Linked DNA regions of Homo sapiens: region 1 is linked to region 2. The links are contacts of gene promoters, found by promoter capture Hi-C in human tissues and cell types (Jung and others, 2019). All regions are on one chromosome and are shown on one strand. The core of a region is centred on a gene start or on the middle of the fragment in contact, and the rest is flanking DNA. Distances in the headings are between cores, read along the strand shown.

Region 1 (6,322 bases), core at 3,320-5,819, 63 kb after region 2:
ACATTAAGGGAAACAGGGTTACAGTATAGGGGAACTCTTGTAGTATTTTTGCAACTTTTTTTAAAGTCTAAAATTTGTTCAAAATACAGTGTTTTTGAATTCTGCTTATTATATGCCTAGATTTCAATCTGGAATGCATCGTTTCAATATTAAGAGTCTCATCTGTCAAAAAGAGAACACACAATTTGAGGTAGCACAACTAGTAAGTAAAATCGGAACAGGCTCAATACCTGAAAAGTGTATTATTCTAAACACACGGGCTGGGCGCGATGGCTCACGCCTATAATCTCAGCACTTTGGGAGGCCGAGGTGGGCGGATCACGAGGTCAGGAGACCGAGACCATCCTGGCTAACACGGTGAAACCCTGTCTCTACTAAAAAAAAAAAAATACAAAAAATTAGCTGGGCGCGGTGGCGGGCACCTGTAGTCCCAGCTACTCGGGAGGCTGAGGCAGGAGAATGGCATGAACCCACCAGGAGGCGGAGCTTGCAGTGAGCCGAGATCACGCCACTGCATTCCGCCTGGGCGACAGAGCGAGACTCCATCTCAAAAAACAACAACAACAACAAAACACACGGGTACACATCCTAATACAGTAAAGCCCCATTGTACACATATTAAATTCTATTTTTCTGCAATTGGAAGACTATCACGATTCTGACCCAGAGCCTAATGTGTAAGAAATGCCACATTTTTTTTTTACTGTCCAAACAGTGACCACAGTTTGAAACTTTAAGAGTATCTTTTTCAGCAGCAGAGAAGTGAAGCTTCAAACCACTATCTAATAAAATAGCAGGATTCTTGTTAAGCATTTTCCGGTTGTATAGCAGTAAAATGAAAAAACCTATTATTTAGAGTTTGCATTACATGAATGGAAAATTCTTGGTCTTTTGATTTTTTAACATTTAAACTTAATTCTAATTAGAAACTGGTGAACTGGGTGTAGGGGGAAAACTCCAAGTGTAAAAAGACATTATTCTTACAGTGACATATGCCGGCTGTTAGGTATTATTTTCACAGACAGTAATTTATACAAATAACTCCAGCTTTTATTAGAGCTTTAAATATTAAAGTATAAATGAGGTATCATTTCCAAGATTGAAAATGGTTTAGGCTGTCTCCAACGCTTTTTATGGAAACATGGTAATTTGTCCATCTGGATTATAGTGGTAAGGAGCCAAACATCATGATTTAATAGAGGTCTGTCTTTCAGTATGTGTCTCTGACATGAGAGCTAAGGGAAGTTTTTTCAAAATATACAAATACATAAAATACTTTCATGTAAAAAAAAAACCACGCAGAACAGTGTTTACACACCTGAAATTCTCAAATGAACAGGTTCTTCATCAGTCCCTGTGTTTTTTTTCTGATTGCCCATTATAAAATAGGAAGTCCATGAAACTTATTTCCAGGGGGTATGGAGACACTAGGGACTGGCCTCGGCCAACCATTACTCTTCTACTCACTGTACTACTGACCTGGGAGAAAGACCAAGAGTGTGGCTTTAAGGCGCAGACACACCATGACAGAGTTCCACCTCCATCACTGACTGGCTGTGCCAACTCTGGCAGGTCACCTAGCCTCTCTGGGCTTCACTTTCGTCATCTATAAGGTAATGACAATAATAACTACACATCAGTGCTGCTCTGACGTTTAAATGAGTTAATATATGTTAAGTGTTTGAAAAGTGTTTGTCACATAGAAGCGCTCTTCAAGCATTGGGAGCTTTCATTATTACCAGGTTTTAATTTTTTAATCTACAAAACAGGGTTATTAACATACCGACGGCTCAGGCCTGTTGTGAGGATTCGATTAAAATAACACGCAGAACCACTGAGCACAATGCCTGCCGCAGAGCAAGCACGTTAGCATCACCATCATCATCAGGCTGGCTCTTTCCACTCTCTGGCTGCAATTGCGCAGAACTGGGGCTTGAACCCGAGGTGCACAAGGGAAGAGGCCACAAAGTCCCCACATGACTGGCCATCCTTCCCAAATCCAGGATGGCATGAAATGGGTTTAAAAGAGTGCACATTCCTTCTTCACACATTAACTATGGACATGAGGAAAGCAGGTTGCATTAATGCTTCATATTTTGTGGGAATTCAGTCACCAAACGTTTAGATGAATGATTTAATACATTTAAAAGAAAATGGCCAAGAGTTGCTGACTTCCTGGCTCTAGCCCAGCTTCCGGGACTTGGAAGTGAAGTCAAGATGAATCTGCAACTATCAAAACACTTCTGTGATCAGAAGAGCACTATGTAAATTATTTTTCTAAACTGGTTTTCCTGATGGACATTCTGCTTCCTTGCTATGTAATCTCATGGAAGTTATTTAATCTCTCTTGACCTTAGTTTTCACTTTTGTGCAACATAAATAGGGTGCTACTCAAAGTTTAGTTATTAAATGAGACACCTACAATATTAACTTTTTTTCACACTATAACAGATGGAACTCTATTTTCCTAAAACTCCCCATGCAGGAGAAACATGGCTTAGAAATGAAGATGGCCTCCCTCACTAAGTCAGAATTCACTGTGACTCCAAAGCAAACCAGACATTTCTCATACTTTGTCAGGCATGCTAACTGCAGAGGTCAGGAAGGCAGGAGGCCTCAGAATTAATATAAGATGATCTAAATGGTGTGAAGTTGGGCTTAACATTTGAACTCACTGGCCAGCATTACTTAGGCAGTTATTAAGAGTGTGCTGACTAGTACGTGCAGAGCAGGGGTGGGGGGATGTAGAAGGATATGTTTTCTAAACCTTAAAAGAGTGAAATGATTTCAAGTAACACTCAGAAGTACTACTCATTAAATATTAATAATAAAATATGTTTATTCTAAATCATTCTTATTGATTCAGATGACAGAAATAATACAAATGATGAAGGGTTTTCTGTAGAATATCCAAGCACAAACCTGGCAATACTCTCAGAAATTATAAGCTTCCTCTGGCTGACCTGGTACTCTATGATATATACTTTGTTTTTATATGCATTAAGCCAGTCACTAAAAATCAGATTAAGCATAGTTTGAGTATTTCATGTACTTGTAAAAAATTACACTTCTTTTTAAAATATTCCATTTTTCTGACCAACTATTTCACTAAATAAACACTTGAATTAGTGATTTTACCAAGGCTAAGTTGAGAAACTATCCAACATGCCAGCTTTGGCTGAAATGCTGTAACTGACTTCAAGAGGTTAAAACCACAAACATGAATAACCAATGTCAGAGATCTGAAATTGACTTCACTAGATCTCTTTTCCTTTAACGTATCTGGGAAAAAATAAGAAAACAAATTCATGCAACTGAAAACATCTTTTTTTTTTTTTTTGAGACGGAGTCTCCCTCTGTCACCAGGCTGGAATGCAGCGGTGTGATCTCAGCTCACTGCAACCTCCGACTCCCGGGTTCTAGCAATTCTCCTGCCTCAGCCTCCCAAGTAGCTGGGATTACAGGCACGTGCCACCACACCCGGCTAATTTTTGTATTTTTAGTAGAGATGGGGTTTCACCGTGTTGGCCAGGATGGTCTCCATCTCCTGACCTCATGATCCGCCCACCTCAGCCTCCCAAAGTGCTGGGATTACAGGCGTGAGCCACCGCGCCCGGCCAAATATCCATGTTTTAATATATATGATGATTTTTGCCAGTGTTTTAAAGCAGGGAGGGGTCCCCAGCATCCACTAGGGGACTAACAGGGTCTACAAAAGGTTTCCAGTGGCCCCCCTGAAAAATGAGAAACCTAAGAAAGGTCTAGTGTGCATGTGTTGTGCACACATCCACGCGTAAGGGTACAGAACTGCTAATGGTCCTTGCTGAAGAATAACTGTCCTGAATTCTAACATTATCTTCTACCTTTTGTTATTAAAATGGTTTCATAAAATGATGGCAACAATCAACAGGTAGCTGCTTTTTAAAAATTATTCTTCTGTAATATTAACCAAGAACAACCTTATCTATTTAAAACATTTTTCTTAGTTCCATTATTCCATAAAAACCAAACACTGGAAATCACAGGTTTAGGTTTTTCTTGTGGGTATTTTGTTGTTGTTGTTTCTGAGCCAGAGTTTCACTCTGTCGCCCAGGCTGGAGCTCACTGCAGCCTCAACCTCCCAGGATCAAGCAATCCTCCCACCTCAGCCCCACAAGTAGCAGGGACTACAGTCACACACCACTACACCCGGCTAATTAAACAAACATTTTTTGCAGAGACGGGGTCCCACTATATTGCCCAGGCTGGTCTTGTACTCCCAGCCTCAAACAATCCTCCCTCCTTGGCCTCCCAAAGTGTTAGAATTACAGGCATGAGTCGCCATACCTGGTCCTTAAATTTCTAAGGTTCTGCTATGCTGAAAGGCATGAAATTCTTGGGTGAATAACCCATATCTTTGCTTATAACAAGAAAATCTGACAATTTGCCAAAATGATTTTCACAGGGCAGGGAGAGAGAAACTTTACACTTTAAATACAAATTTCTATAGTCATTCCGCTAAACATTTTATTAGGTGCACACAACACTCAGATATCAATCTGGATATAACAAATCAATTTAACTTCTAATGCCCATTAAAACCATGAAAATAACAAAAATACGAAAGTGCTCTACCCTTTCCAAATTCAAAGCAAGTTAAAAGACATCTTTCCTGTGATTTATGTGGCATTTAAATTTAAAAGTAAATCAGACTGTATTACCAGCTTACAGCAGATCTGCTTGCAGACAATAATTCTTCCTGTCTTGGACCCATGCCCATGTGCATTATTGTAATTATCAACAATTTAAAAAACTGAAGTAATAAAGCAAGTATGAGCCACTAGTCAGTATATTTACTGCTTGCTGCACTGGCTATTAGTTAACCTTCTGGGGTTCAAACCACCTAACTACTAATAAATGCATAAACGACAGCAGGAAAAGCTACCCTCGAGTAAAAAGAATGAATAAAAGGAATATAAACGTGTGTGTAAGCACACATGAACCTGCATGGTGTAAAATACAACAGCACCTTTTTTGGTATTTTTTAGAGACAGGGTCTTGCTCTGTCACCCAGGCTGGAGTTCAGTGGTGCAATCACGGCTGATTATAACCTTGAACTTCCAGGCTCAAGTGATCCTCCTGCCTTGGCCTTCTGAGGAGCTGAGACCACAGACGTGCAGCACCACACCTGGCTAATTTTTAAATGTTTTGCAGAGATGAGGTCTCGCTATATTGCCCAGGCTGGTCTCAAACTCCAAGTCTCATGCAATTCCCCAGCCTCAGCCTCCCAAGGTGTTGGGATTACAGGCATGAGCCACAGGGCCCAGCCTCAACAGCACTTTTGTACTACTTGTCAGGTGGGCACTGGGAGCCCTCCAGGATCCAGTCTCTACCCAGCACTCTGAATCACCTCAAGGCAGAACACACTGCTCTTCTATTCCAGAGAATTCAGAGTGGCTAATGTGGCTTGCAAGGCCCACCATGATGCAGCCCCTGCCACACTCCAGCATCCCTCCAGTCCAGCACCACCCTTGATGTCACAAGCCAGGGTCTGTCTCACCTCAAGGCCAACTGTCCTCTCTTGTTGAGGATGACTGTCCTGAATTCTAATGAACTCCCAGAACTCGAAGCCTTCCCCTGCTGTTCCCAAGCAAGTGTGGTGGTCTCACCCTCAGGACTCTGCTCAAAGGGGCATTCCGTGGAAGGCCTTCTCCTCCAACCCATTCCAGGTTTTATCTCTCTCAAGCAATCTGAAACGACCTTGCTCATTCATCTGCAGTGTCCATCTCCCATCACTAGAATGTGACTTCGTCAAGGGGAGAGGCCTCATGTATTTTCCTAACCACTGTTATCTGGGAACAGCCCCTAGCATGCAGTAGCTCATCATTTATACCCAAGTAAACAACTGACTCTAAAGTCTATGCTCTTGGTTTCTTCAAGATACTGCACTAAACTAGTATCAACCTGCAGGTATTTCTAAATCAACAGTGTACTAGTCTCCATACAAGGAGACCTACTAAAAGTTGACAAATTAAATGACAAAAAAACTTATGCAAGATGGCAAGTTTCCATTCTCTTAATTTTAATTTTTGTCAAGTGACTCCAAGCACACAGTTTGAGAAGCCACACAGTACAAGGCTAGAGCTCACACGAGAAGGACAGCTTCCACCCAAGTGGAGCCTGCTCTGCAGAGACTGTGCTTCCACAGCTATCAGGCCTTCCACCTGCTCTTTATCTCCACATTTCTACACAACATGTTTTATTTCTGTATCTTTTCAGTCCAGATATTATCCTCCAATGTTTTTAATTCTTAAACTGCCAAACCCTACACCCATCCACCCAC
Region 2 (6,791 bases), core at 2,762-5,261:
GTTTTCTCAACTCCTAAACGAGGAATTTCCAGGTGTTCTCAGGACCAAGGCAGAGGGAAGGCTCCAGAAAGCCCCTGGAGAAGGCAGATTTCCGGTCCACTCCAGCAGCTGAAGCCCCACCTACAGGACAATCCTAGCTTCCTGCTGCTTTCTGCCTTCCCAACCCTCTTCCTCACCCACTGCACACACCTGCCCAGCACATGCTCTAGAGAACAAAAAAGGCAGTTCTCTAAAGTTTTATGTGGGCACAGTGGCTCACGCCTGTAATCCCAACTACTTAGAAGTCTGAGACAAGGAGGATCGATCACCTGGGCCCAAGAGTTTGAGTCCAGCCTGGGCAACATAGCAAGACCCCCATGTCTAAAAAACAAAACAAAATAAAAGTTTAATTTTCTATGGTGGGAGGGGCAGGGGATGAGAAGGAGAAAGGGATATGCAGCTGGCACACATTTTCTTTTCATAGAAAGATATTTCTCCTAGAAGCTGGGTAAAGCAGGGGAATGAAAATCAGAAGGTCTTAGGAAGAGGTCTCTGTTGCTGGCGAGCAGTTCCTTGAATCCTGGGGGCACTTCCCTGTGTTTGGCAGGGCAGGATGGCTCCTCTGTGAGGTCAGGGCCCCACTGACAGCCTGGGTTCTCAGCCTCTCGACAGGCGACCTACTGATACTATACGATCTTCTTGCTTGTCTCAAGTCCCTTTCAACTCAAAAACTCAAGCTGCATCATTTGAACACCACACTGCAACTTACAAAGGGCTTTCATGTAAAGTACCCCTCTTAATCCTTTCAACAAACCTGGAACATATATGTCATCACCATTTTATAGCCACAGAAACCAAGGCTTAGAGATATTGAGTAACATCTCTGAGATCACGTGGCTAGACAAGGCGGCCCCGGGTCTTGGCTGCATGTTACCTCCTGCCACCACATCACAGATGCCTGCAGCCCTAATTTGCTGACCTGGCCCTTCCAGCCTGGGTTAGAGAGATGCCATGTGCTCACCCAGTGCATATCGAGAAGCTAGTACTCATGAGTCAGAATTCAGTTCCCTGTACCCCACACTACCTTGGGTGGTCCCAAGGACAGGGGCTGTGAGTCTAGGGTCTTCCTCACTGCTATTTCCCAGCACCTGGCACAGGCTCAGTCAGTGGGTTACCTAGCAGATATTGTTATGTGAATGAATGCCTGAATGGTTGACAAATTAACAAGCAGGTGACCCTCTGAATAGCCAGAGGTGTACACCCTGGCCCCTAGACATCTGATTTTGGCCACACAACATCCGATTTTTCCAAACTTGGTCTCTGGATGCCTAAGGGATGCTGAGTCTTACCTAGGGCAATTGTGATCGGAAAAGGAACCAGTGGATGTCAAGGCAGCTTCATATTCACCATCAAATACTCAACAGGAATCAAGACCCTCAGGGAGGCAGGCTCCCTGGCTCTCATTAATGGCCATAAGAAGTGGCATCTGTTTCCCTGCTTGCTTGCAGGCAGGGCTCACACCATCCCCAGATGCAGTAACGTGCATCAGGACTCTGAAGGCCACGCAGAACACTTGATGGGAACAGCAGGGGTGGGGCAGGGGCCACACCACCAGCCTTGGGAAGGGGACAGCCAGATACAAATACCACCAAACAAGGGTGCACGGATGGATGCAACTGGGGACAAGGAACCCAGAAACAACAGCACCCTGTGGGCCAGGCTCTGCTGACCCAGATAATAAACCCAGGGGCAGCAGCCACACCTCCCGGCCGGGGATGGACATCCTAGCTGCAAACACACACTACAGGGTGATCCCAGGGACTGGGATTTCTGGTGAGGCCAGGGATGGGAGGAATCTGCAAGACATGGAAATGAGCTTTGGCCAATTTCCTCTGGACACTCCGCCTCACAGCTAACTTTGGCATTCGTCTCTTAGTTTCGCTCTCAAGACTGGATGTTCTTTAAAGGAAACAACCACATCTTACTGGTCTCTGAGAGCCTTCCCTTCACCCATGGGACTAGGTACTGAGTTAGTTCAATAAAGCTCGGCAGGAGAAAAGACAAAGAGCAAGCCAAGAGAATGAAAATGGCAGAGGGGGAAGGAACAGCCCAAGGGCGCAGAGAGCAAATGAGCTTCGCAGAGGAGGAGGAAATGAGCAGGGATGGGGGAAACTAAAGCCAGGGCTTGCAGGTGACAAGACAAGTCCGCTGAATGTGGGATCCTGGGGGTGAGTGGAAGGTGAGCCCCAGCCTGGCTGCTTGTCAGGTGGTGAGATGGCTCAGAGAGGAGGCTGGACCACACGACCAGGAAGACCCTGCTTTCCCCGTGTGGGCAGGAGAGTCCTAGAAAGGGAAGTCAGGGAGAACAAACTTGGGGTGGGGGCACCGGACTGCCCTGAAATAACAAATTCCAAACAGCAGGTTCTCTGCTGAAGAGGCAGGGAGTCTAGAACCCCAAGTAGGCAATTAGCAAGGACACAAACATAGCAATTACAGCAAGGAAGAGAAGGTGAATCTGCCTCACAGCAGGGCACAGGCACAGCCAGGGGAAGGGCCCAAGCCTTCAGGTCCACTGGAAGCTTTCCTCCTTGCTGAGGGTGAAAAGTGGAGAAAATAGCAGAGCCCAGCCCCAGGTCCTGTCTGTGGTGCAGGCAGCCTCCAAAGCCCCAGCGTCTGATTTTCTGCAAGCTCCCTAGGTCGGGATGCTGCTTGGACAAAAGGAATTGATCTGAGACAGCACCAAAATCAGGCCTGACTTAGGGAGCAACGGCGGAGACTATGGAGCCCAGGGGCACCCGGAAGGAGGGGAGAAAGTGAGGGTTGGCAGGGCAGGGAGGCCATCATTTGCAGAGGAGCAAAACTCTCTGCCACACAGCCCCTGCCTCTCAGCGCCGCCCTGACCTGGTATGCCCTGGCCTTCCAGGAAACCTGGGGGTCTGCCTTGGACAGAGAGGGTAGAGACCTGGCTGCTGGTCCCGCCCGGGCACTACCACCTAGGTGGGTCCGTCAATGAAGTGACTAGCGACCCATCCCCAACTCCATACAGGAACATGTAATCTTTTTGAGATCTTTCAATAGGTCTTTCATTGTTCTTTCTGCCAAAGAAGAGCTTCCTGTTTCGGTACTTCGCAAAAGGCTCAAGACATGTGTGTTCCCACATCCCTTCCCATACAGCCGCCTTCCCAAAGGGCTCCATCCCCTCTCGAGAAGCCCAGGCAAGCCCAACTCTGGAGTTCTTAGCTCCAGCCCGTATGGCAGCCAAAGCCCTGGCCTCCCAGTTGTCCTCTGCGAGGTCCCAAAGCGCCTTTTGACGGGGAAGGAGAGAGACGAAAGAAACTTTCTGCAGAGGCCAAGGATGGCTGAGACTCCAAACCCTCCTGAAATTTCACTTCCTCCCAAATAACCCCACTCCAAGCCCCTGGTTTCTTCCAGATGTTCACTAACAGCGCGAGAGTCATGGAGGGGCCGAGACGGAGCCCCTTTTTTCAACTCAGGGAAAGAAAGGACCGAGGGCGCAGGAAGGCCCAGGGGCTTCCCGCCTCCCCCTGGCGGGGCGCAGCCGGTCCGGTACCAAAGGTCCGGCCAGCCCCGCCCGCCCGCGGCCCGGCACCCGCTGAACAGGAAATTCCACCTGTGCGCCCAGAGCTCGGCCACCGACGGACACGCCAGGGGAGCCGGCCGAGCCCAGCGCCGCGCTGCAGGGTCGGGCGGGCAGGAGCTTCCCAGCGCCCCGGGTCCCCGGCCCGCGCTCACCTCGTGCCGGGAGTTGTACTTGAGTCCCGCGCCGAAGTCCTTCGGGCCCCCTCCGCCCTTGCGGGCCCGATCGCTCCCCATGGTCCCCGAGGCCGCTCGCGGGTCTCACAGGCGTCGTCCCTGCCGGCGGCCGGCTCCCATGGCCCGCAGGGCGCGGGGCGCGGGGCGCAGGCGGCGGGATTCCGGGCAGGCCCAGCGCGCCCGACCGGCGGCGGTGCCCTCGCCCTGGCGCGCTCTCTCTCCCTCTTCCTCTTTCTCCGGCTGCAGCTCCGCTCTCACACTCCGGCCCGGCCCACGCAGGTAGTTTCAGGGTGTGGCCTCGGCCCGCCCAGCCCGCCGCGCTCGCCTGCGCACCTGCCCGGCTCACCTGCCCGCCCCCGCCGGCCCTGGGGGAGGCTCCTCCCCTCGGCTCTGGGCCTGAAGGTGAGGGGGCCTCACTCGGGTGGTGGTCGCTAAGGCCCTCACCATCACCACGACGGCGTTCACCACCCCTCCGGCCCTCCAGGGGCCCTGCCCCGGGAGGGCAGCCCTTTATCCACCTCCTTGATGCCAACCATCTTTTCCCTCCTCCCTCATGCGCCTCCGGTCTCTCCCCTTCACCTTGCTCACTTTGCTACAGGACTAAATCGCATTTATGAACCCCCCAAAACCAAACAGAAACCAGAACCGCCCCTGGCCCAGGCTCCCCGTCGGCTACGCAGCCTCCTGTTCTCCAGGCGGGAGGCGCTTGCTGGCCTGCGCCCGGCTACCCTGGGGAGGCCCAGTGACATGAGCTGTGCCACCAGATGCCCTCTGAGCCATCCCAACGCCCCTCGCCCACTTGCAGCATCTGATGCTTCCTCAAATGCCCCCTTTCCCTGGATTCCGGTCCTCCTTTCTAGTCCTAAATGTCATGATTCCCAAAGTTCTCCCTTCAGTTTCATCCCTTTCTTCTCTAAGCTTTTTCTCTTGGCAGCACGTCTCATCTTACGACTTCAGACAGGAAGACCTCCCTCCCAGCACAGACACCACCAAGGAGTGCCAGTTCTGCCTTAGCGGTCGCCTGGGGACGTCTCCATTTATGTTCTACTGTATTCTGTAGCCAATGAACATTACCAAGCACACACTAGGCGCTAAGCACTGTCCTGGGTACAGGGAAACAGGAGTGAACAAAATAAAAATCCCTGCTTTGAGATCAACAAGCCCCATCTTCCTTCCCTGACTTGCCCATTTTCCACTGTTTTCTCTAATTCTAATGGCAGCATTCTCCCAGGCTCAAATCCTGGAATCATCTTTGATTCTCCACCCTGCTTACATCTCATATCCAATTAGTTCCAAATCTGATCAAGACTCTGCTGACAAGCATAGCCCTTCCATTCCTGCGCATTAGAAGACCGCTATTCGAGTCCTCAGAGCCCTTTGCCTGGTTAAGAAAGATCTCCTGCCTCTGGGCTGCCACCCTCTGATCTCTCCTACACAAAGCAGTCAGGTAAATCTGAAACCACAGCTCCTTTATGACTTTCCGTGTCTCCCGGATCAAATCCAACCTCCTTAGCCCAGCTTCACACTCTGCCCTGTCCTCCCTTAACACCGTGCCTCCAAGCATTCCTGTTTGGAGCCCCTCTCTCCAGCCAGGCGTTCTGATCTTGGCAGCTTTCATAAAGCTTTTCATCCCCTGGAAGCTCTTCTCCTTCATACTCCTTCCGCATATTGGGTCGAAGACACCGATGGGGTTTTTTAGTGTTGTTCATTGAATGTTTTTAGCTCTCTGCCTTCTGGGCACAGGCCAGGGTGTTACTCTCTCTTCTCTGAAGTTAGGTATGGCAGTATGGCTAGCGGTAACCAAGAAAATGTCCAATGAGAGGACACACCACTTGTACATAGCAGCATAAGGAGGCACTGCACAATGCCCTGCTCTCTTCTGAGAGGTTTAACTCTGTGACCTGTGACCCTAAGTGGCTACAATGACACACACTGGATATGTAGCATGAATGAGGAGTCAGTCAGCTTTTGGGATGTTAAGCCACCGAGAGCTGAGGGTTGTTTGTTATTGCTGCAAACCTCACGCTTCCTGACTGATATGCTACCTCCTCCCCAGGAGTTTCCTTCCCTCTCAACCAGAACTAGCTCTGTTTGTACCTCTCTCATGGAGCTCACCACCATTTCGTTGCATTTTCTGTCTGTGTCTTAACTGCCTTTGCACCCTCAAAGCCTAGCACAATGACTAACACAATATATTGGGTCAATTTAATTGAAAGAAGAATGAATCTGCTGCCTTCCATCACATAAAGCATTCCAAAGCTAAACAGAAAATATTTCTAAAAGGCTGGCACGTTGGCTTCCAGCACTTTGGGAGGCTGAGGTGGGTGGATCACCTGAGGTCAGGAGTTTGAAATCAGCCTAGCCAACATATAGTGAAACACCATCTCTACTAAAAATACAAAAATTAGCTGGACATGGTGGTGCATGCCTGTGGTCCCAGCTACTTGGGAAGCTGAGGCAGGAGAATTGCTTGAACCTGGGAAGTGGAGGTTGCAGTGAGCCGGGATCATGCCACTACACTCCAGCCTGGAGCGAGACTCCATCTCTCAAAAAAAAAAAAAAAAAAAGAAAAGAAAAAAAAGAAAAAGAAAATATATAAAAATAAATTTTCCTTTGGATTACCAATGGCACAGCATTCTTCAACTAGTGTGAGTGATGGAAAGTAAGCCAAATTCAATGTGACGTAAATGAGATGGTACTCCTGACACACAGACCTTCTGTGCTGCTGCAAACGCAGTGACTCACGTTGTCTCCCCACTTCCTAGGGCCTCATCTTTTATCTCGTAGAGCTGGGCGCTCAGCGTGATTTGGATGCCGTATGAATGCAATGCATTGACTGCTAGTGCAGATGAAGAGAAAGCGATGCAGGACAAGACCCTTCCCCTAGGATGGCTGCATGGGGATACCTTGCTGCATGCACCCTATGTGCACTCCTGGGTTGGAGGAGGCAGTGTAACCATATGTTATTCCATGAATCCCATTTGGTTTAATCCTCAAAAAATTATGAAATGTCAGTGCTTTTGTTCCTAAATGGTAAG

The links. The method cuts DNA at HindIII sites, captures the fragments that hold promoters and counts their contacts. A contact is called where the count stands out against the background at its distance.
Region 1: a contact is called between a fragment that was not itself captured here and the fragment with the promoter of ST14 in region 2, in 1 of the 25 tissues and cell types used here (thymus).

What each region holds. Positions count from the first base shown.
Region 1 is chr11:130,095,422-130,101,743 of GRCh38, reverse strand. The region is part of intron 1 of APLP2 (amyloid beta precursor like protein 2); the gene reads right to left. Among named protein-coding and RNA genes, the nearest start is that of APLP2, 29 kb to the right of the region's middle. The HindIII fragment of the contact is 5,421 bases long and covers 1,859-6,322 here.
Region 2 is chr11:130,157,002-130,163,792 of GRCh38, reverse strand. It overlaps ST14 (ST14 transmembrane serine protease matriptase), which reads right to left and starts at 4,011. Exons shown (of 19, transcript NM_021978.4): 1 at 3,733-4,011. The coding sequence starts at 3,813. RefSeq lists an enhancer at 2,276-2,775 and silencers at 3,863-3,932, 4,013-4,132. The HindIII fragment of the contact is 3,998 bases long and covers 1,026-5,023 here.